Linked DNA regions of Homo sapiens: region 1 is linked to region 2. Evidence: promoter capture Hi-C in 16 types of primary human blood cells and fetal thymus (Javierre and others, 2016). All regions are on one chromosome and are shown on one strand. The core of a region is centred on a gene start or on the middle of the fragment in contact, and the rest is flanking DNA. Distances in the headings are between cores, read along the strand shown. Region 1 overlaps PTPRA (protein tyrosine phosphatase receptor type A). Region 2 holds the start of C20orf141 (chromosome 20 open reading frame 141).

What was found. Contacts are between HindIII fragments. The CHiCAGO score rates a contact against its expected background, and 5 or more counts as called.
Region 1: a fragment that was not itself captured here is called in contact with the fragment with the promoter of C20orf141 in region 2 in 2 of 17 cell types (fetal thymus and naive CD8 T cells); the score reaches 5.4 in fetal thymus.

The regions. Positions count from the first base shown.
Region 1 is chr20:2,992,180-2,995,415 of GRCh38, reverse strand. The region is part of intron 9 of PTPRA (protein tyrosine phosphatase receptor type A); the gene reads right to left. Among named protein-coding and RNA genes, the nearest start is that of GNRH2, 50 kb to the left of the region's middle. The HindIII fragment of the contact is 6,476 bases long and covers 1-3,236 here.
Region 2 is chr20:2,813,715-2,816,806 of GRCh38, reverse strand. It overlaps C20orf141 (chromosome 20 open reading frame 141), which reads right to left and starts at 1,820. Exons shown (of 3, transcript NM_001256538.2): 1 at 1,790-1,820; 2 at 1,363-1,655; 3 at 977-1,269. The coding sequence starts at 1,622. The coding sequence ends at 1,032. It overlaps TMEM239 (transmembrane protein 239), which reads right to left and starts at 443. Exons shown (of 2, transcript NM_001167670.3): 1 at 392-443; 2 at 1-263. The coding sequence starts at 252. The HindIII fragment of the contact is 5,792 bases long and covers 1-3,092 here.

The sequences.
Region 1 (3,236 bases), core at 605-3,104, 180 kb before region 2:
CCAGGCACAGTAGCTCATGCCTGTAATCCCAGCACTCTGGGAGACCAAGGTGGGAGGACTGCTTGAGATCAGGAGTTCAAGACCAGCCTGGGCAACACAACAAGACCCCGTCTCTACAGCGGGGGAAAAAAAGTAAAGAGCTAATAAATATCCAGAAGAAACTACAGGAATTCACTGAGCTGGATCATTACAAATGATAGGAACAATTGTTGATATAGATTTTGGAGACGTTATAACAAGGAAGGGAGAGTATGACTTGGTTAAAGCCAAATTTCTTTTCTTTTTTGAGATGGAGTCTTGTTCTGTCCCCCAGGCTGGAGAGCAGTGGTGCAATCTTGGCTCACTGCAACCTCTGCCTCCCGGGTTCAAGCGATTCTCCTGCCTCAGCCTCCCGAGTAGCTGGGATTACAGGCACTCACCACCATGCCCGGCTAATTTTTGTATTTTTAGTAGAGACAGGGTTTCAGCATGTTGGTCAGGCTGGTCTCAAACTCCTGACCTCAAGTGATCTGCCTGCCTCAGCCTCCCAAAGTTCTGGGATTACAGGCATGAGCCATTGTGCCCAGCCTGGATAAAGCCAAATTTCTAATTATGGTATGGTCAAAAGAACTTCTGCAGGTAGTGTAACAGCTCAGGTAACTGGCCATGGTTTTAATGTTGAGCTAGGCTCGCCAGTGGAAACCTGGACTGAATGCTGGATTTAGTGAGGTGATAATGAAAAGCCAGAAAAACCTGGGCACAAAGTAGAGGAGACCAGAGTGGCATATGGACTCTAAAGGCTCAGCCTTCTACTGACACCTTCAGTATGCCCTTGATGGGATCCACATCACATGCCTTGCTGAGGCTATACACTGGTGAGGAAAGCACTGGAATCTTTCAGAAGTGCTTTCCTGGCTGTCCTCAGCAGCGTGAGATGCTAGTGGAAGGGACTATTTCAAAATGGGATTCCTGATCTAAGTGGGCTAGAAAGACTGTTGGAGACCATGATCAGACGTTTATGGCTGTGAATAATTCATTGTGAAGCTCCCAGTAATGGAAACGGAAAGTAGCTTTCCAGGTCAGTTTAGGCAGCCTACTAGACCACCATGCTAGAGAGGGGGCCCCCTCATCCAACTCGTAGGCCTGGGTCATTTCAGACCCAGAACCCTTCAATAACAGGGAGGCCAGGCATCTGTAAGGAGGAACCCTGCCACAGCGCATTAACACACATATATTATAAACCTCCCTCCTCATCTTTTCTTAATAATCTGCAGATATTTGCCATGGCAACTGTACTAGGTAAAGGGAAATGCATCTTTTGGGGTCTGCTAGGTCCTGGCCTTGAGGTAGCTACTTGCTAGGAACTCAGAATGTCGCTAAGATATGCTAGTTAGAACGGAGCCTTTGCAGGCCAGCTGATGGAAGGAATTTTGGCCTGAGGTGGCTTCACATTAGGACCTATTAATCTATCTAATCTATCTTACCTGTCTGTCGATCTGTCTGTCTGCCTGCCTGCCTGTCTGTCAGGGCCTCCAAAAGGGAGGGAAAGAAACTAGATGCTCCCGGCTCTGTGAAGTTGGCTAGACCTCCCTCTGTGCCACCTTGATTTTCAATAACATTGGCCATTAGGTAATGCCCAAAGACACACAGATTCCCTAGCCCACTGGATAAGAACCATCACAGAAAGAGCAAATGTAAGCTCCTAGAGCAGTGATCTCTTTAGCAAAAGGCGAAGTCTCCATGTGAACCGCAGGATCTTAAGTGCTACAGAAGACTTTGCAGATTTGCAGTTACTTTTCCAGACGTACTCTACTTTCTGCAGATTAACATATAACTCCTGGTACCTAGACTACTGCTAGGGGTAAGTGTGTGTTCTTTTTAAGTTGTGTGGACTACTTGAAGCAGTTTTTCTTGCTCATGGCAAGAGCAGCCTCAGTGATAAATCATCTTGACCTTTCTGTGTTGTGATCTGGTTCATCAAGATTTTGTCTGTTTCACAGGACATTACCTTGACAACTATGCTAATGACATCAATGTGAGACATGAAAAGCAGGAAGTTATGTATCTTAGATGTACATGTCAGACATAAAAATACAGTGGCCTGCCACCTCAGCCAAATTTTCTGAAAGTCAAAGGCCTGCAGCACGTCAGGGTATCTCCTCCAACATAAAAGACAACTTGTTGCCCCTTGCCCCACCACCCCTCTCCTGCTAACAAAGAGGAGCAATGCTTGCTGGGCCATTTTGAGTTTTGGAGACAGCAGATACCTTATCCTTGCATCCAACTCTGATCTCTCAATTTAATCCATCTAATCCATCTGATCAATCAATCAATCTACCTACCTACCTACATAGAGACAAGATCTTGCTCTGTCACACAGGCTGCAGTGCAGTGGTGCAATCACAGCTCACTGCAGCCTCAAACTCCTAGGCTCAAGCAATACCCCACCTCAGCCTCCCCAGTAGCTGGAACTACGGGTGCATACCACCATGCCCAGCTAATTTTTTGAAGAGGCAGGCTTTCGCCATGTTGCCCAGGCTGGTCTTGAGCTCCTGGACTCAAAGCAATCTGCCTGCCTCATCTCCCAAAGTGCGAGGATTAAAGGCATGAGCCACTGTGCCCAGCCTCTGACCAATTTATTGAGTGATCTGAAAAGAGAAAGTGCTCCTGCTGATCCAGGCCACAGAGAAATAAGCTCTGGTAGATTGTATGGAGCTCTAGAGTGTTTGTAGTAAGGTAAACAGAAGAATCGTAATATTTGGATATGGATATAAGACCATGATCCTATTGGTAAGACCATGCTCCTAGCCTAGTACTGGGCTCTAGGGTAGAGACTGCAAGCCTGATCACAGACAGGTATCCAAATGACTTCAACTCCCCATCGTAAACTAGGGGTTTTTTTGTTTGTTTTGTTTTTTTGAGATGGAGTTTCGCTCTTGTCGCCCAGGCTACAGTGCAATGGCGTGGTCTCGGCTCAATGCAACCTCTGCCTCCCGGGTTCAAGCGATTCTCCTGCCTCAACCTCCCGAGTAGCTGGGATTACAGGCATTTGCCACCATGCCTGGCTAATTTTTGTATTTTTAGTAGAGACGGGGTTTCACCATGTTGGCCAGGCTGGTCTTGAACTTCTGACCTCAGGTGATCTGTCCAACTCAGCCTCTCAAAGTGCAGGGATTACAGGCATGAGCCACCGGGCCGGTCTCGTAAACTAGGTATTATGAGATTCAATTAGCCATAGATTTGGACATGCCCAGCAG
Region 2 (3,092 bases), core at 571-3,070:
AGTGGTGAAGAGTGCATGGCACAACATCAGTGCCAGCAGCAGGTAGAGTATCCCCTCCAGACCCCACAGCAGGCGCTGCAGCGGTTGCCGCCAGTTCGAGGTGCTCCACCACTGGATCCAGCTCGGGGGCATGTGGCTCACCCACCAGCGCACCCAGCCATGCCTCGTGACCCAGGCTGACCAGGGCACTGCCTGCTGTGGCCCCTCGCCAGCCCCGATGGTATCTGTCTCCACTCGCGGCTGCTGCATCATGTCTGGTGCACCTGGGGAGAGGGCCAGGGTCTTGAAGATGCCTGGGACCTTGGGGGGGGGGGGCAGAGAGGGGGTGCAGGGGTCAGGAGGGCACCAGTGTGCGTGGGGTGGGGCTACAGAATTAGGGACTGGGACTTACCTCTGGGCAGTTACCTAAGTCATGTTGCTTCCTGCAGCGCCCAGGACGGCCTGGCAGGCAGATCCAAGTCCCCACTCTCATCTACCCCCACCCTCCCCAGAGGAGCCCCTTTGTGACCCGGGCTGGGGTGGGGTCCAGCCAAGAGAGGAGTCACTGTAGGGTGTGAGGCCCACCCAAGTCCCTCTGCACGGACCCTCCAGGCTGGCAGGGGAGCCTCGGAGCCCCGCAGATGTAGTTTCTCATGCTTTCTCATGGGAAGCCCTCCCTGGATCCCTGTCCCTTTCCTGCTTTCCCTGCTGGCTGATATCCACCCCTTTCCAAACTGCTCTCTCGCAAGTCTTTCTGTCTGGACCTTCATTCTCTAGAGCCACAGAGGAGGCCAGAGTGGCTGCCCCCAATCCACAGGCTCTGAGGTGGCTGCCACATTCTTCCTTGGGCTCCCTGGCTAGTATCCTACCTTCTCTTGCTGCCCAAAGACTCAGATCCAGGTATCTGATACCTATATTATAGGACTGTGAGGTTCAGGCTGGGAAGAAAGGGGTATCATCCCACCTGCCCAGCCAGGAAGGAGAAAAGGGGGCCTGATGAAGAAGGGTGGTCATTGTATATTTGAAGGACACTGAGTTGTGGGGAGGGGCTCTCAGGCCCAAGGATGGAGGCAGAAAGCCAGGCCAAGCAGGGTCAAGGGCATGCCACAGGCTCTCAGGAGCGGGCCCAGCCCCATGAGCAGCAGCAGCAGTGCGTCCTGGAGGCTAAGTTGTCCTGAGACTGTACCCATTTGCAGGAGTAGAGCCTCCTGCTGTCCAGGACCTTCACCGGCCCCCTGACTCTGGCCCCTGGTGAGAAGTTTGCGCTGTGGCAGAGTGTGACCTGCGGGCCTGTGGAGAGAGAGGGTGGTGACTGGGCTTAGGGAAGTTGTCCACTGGCCCGCCCGCCTACAATGCCCACCTGCCAGGCTGCTGCCCACTTACCTATGGAGCAGGTCAAAGGTGAGGAAGCTGACCAGAAGCAGCAGCAGGGCTGGGCCAGTGGTGGAAAAGACTGCCTGGATTGTCAGTCCTAGTGCCCCCAGCCATAGGACACTGTCCAGGAGCTGGGCCCAGCTAGGGCCCCAGGTGGATACAGGTGGACGCACTGGACTACCTGACCCCTCCCCAGCACCCAGGCCCCTTGGAGGAACTGGGATCGGATCCTCACGTGCTTCGGGTCTGGGTAAGCAGAGCCGGGTCATGGAGAGAGGTGGAGGTGACGGGAAGACCTAGTGCTGAAAAGGATTATAAGGGTGAGAGTAGGGGAAGGGGTAGGGCCCGGGCAGACAGAAGGGTGAGCTCAGAGTGGGGAATTAGGCTCCTGCAGAGTCTCCCCCTCCCCCATACCCACCCAGCAAACCCTCCTCACCTCCTCCCACTTTGGTCAGCATTCTGGGAGTGGGCACCCGGGGCATTGTGACCTGTTACCACGTGGGGCCGTGGGGTAGGGAGGGGGCTGCTGCTGCTGCTGCTCTGACCTCATAAGCAGCTGGTGGCCTAGGTGGGGCTTAGCTGGGAAGTCAGGGATTTCTGAGAACTAAGACTCATCCTCTTGCCTTTGCTGATTCTCTGCCCTAGGGCCCTCCCTTGGGGATCTGAGTTGTCAGGAAGGCATTCTAACCCCATTACTACTTGGGCATCTGTCCAAGGGAGCGAGGTCTGCTTTCTTCTTCCTGTGAGTTTGCAGAGCTGCAGGTCCAGGGCGAAGTCATTCAATATCTCTGTCCCCAGCTGTCTTCCCTGTGGGTCCTTCTAGGGGATTTTTCAGGCCTGAAGTTCCAGATTGCAGAGATGGGCTCTGCCAGGGGACTGCCTGAGGCTTCTGGGGCTGGGCTTCCGCATAACCTGCTAAATGGGGGTGAGAGAGGAGGGGGCTGTTCAGGTATTCTAAGCACTACAGTTTATAGGGGGTGTTATGCATACTGGGGTTCCAGTAATGAGGTAGAGGACATGAACTTAAGAGGACTATGACCTAGTAACCCCCTTATTAGAGGTTAAGGTTACAGTCTGAGAATGGAGTTAAGGAAAATGAACATATAATGAAGGGCTTAGTCACTTGGATTATCAGTATATCAGATTACACTGATCATCTGTAAATGGGTGGTGGCCATAGGGGTCCAGCACATCTCAGTTTAGTGACTTGAGAGGCAAGAGCGGAAATGTGTCATAATTAAGAGAACTTAATCTTTGCCCACATATCATACTTTGAAGGAAAACTGGTAGGGGTGGCAAAATGGGAGACAGTGGCCATACAGCCCCTAGGAGAGGAGGAGACAGAACAAGAATCAGGCTGCATATCCACCTCCAGCAGGCCTTGCCCAGAGACGAGGGTCACCAGCCCTAATGACCATGCACTGATCGCCCTTGGTCTGGCTGTTCTTGCTTATCCAGCAGCTGGGTTTTACGAGTAGATTTGTCCGTAATGGGATAGGGTATAACAGAAGATCCCAGAATTTTTTTTTTTTTGGCATTAAGTTCCAATTGTGCTTGTAAAGGAACATTAAGGTTTAAGATTGGCAATTCCCTGAGCCTGATCAATCCTGGATGCATCCACACAATTGCATTCCTGGACATACAGACCTGGGGAGCATGTCCTGATGAGTCCACCAAGATGAGGCTACTCCATATTGCAGGGCATGGGGGGATCGGAGAGTCTAAAGCTCCTTAAAGAT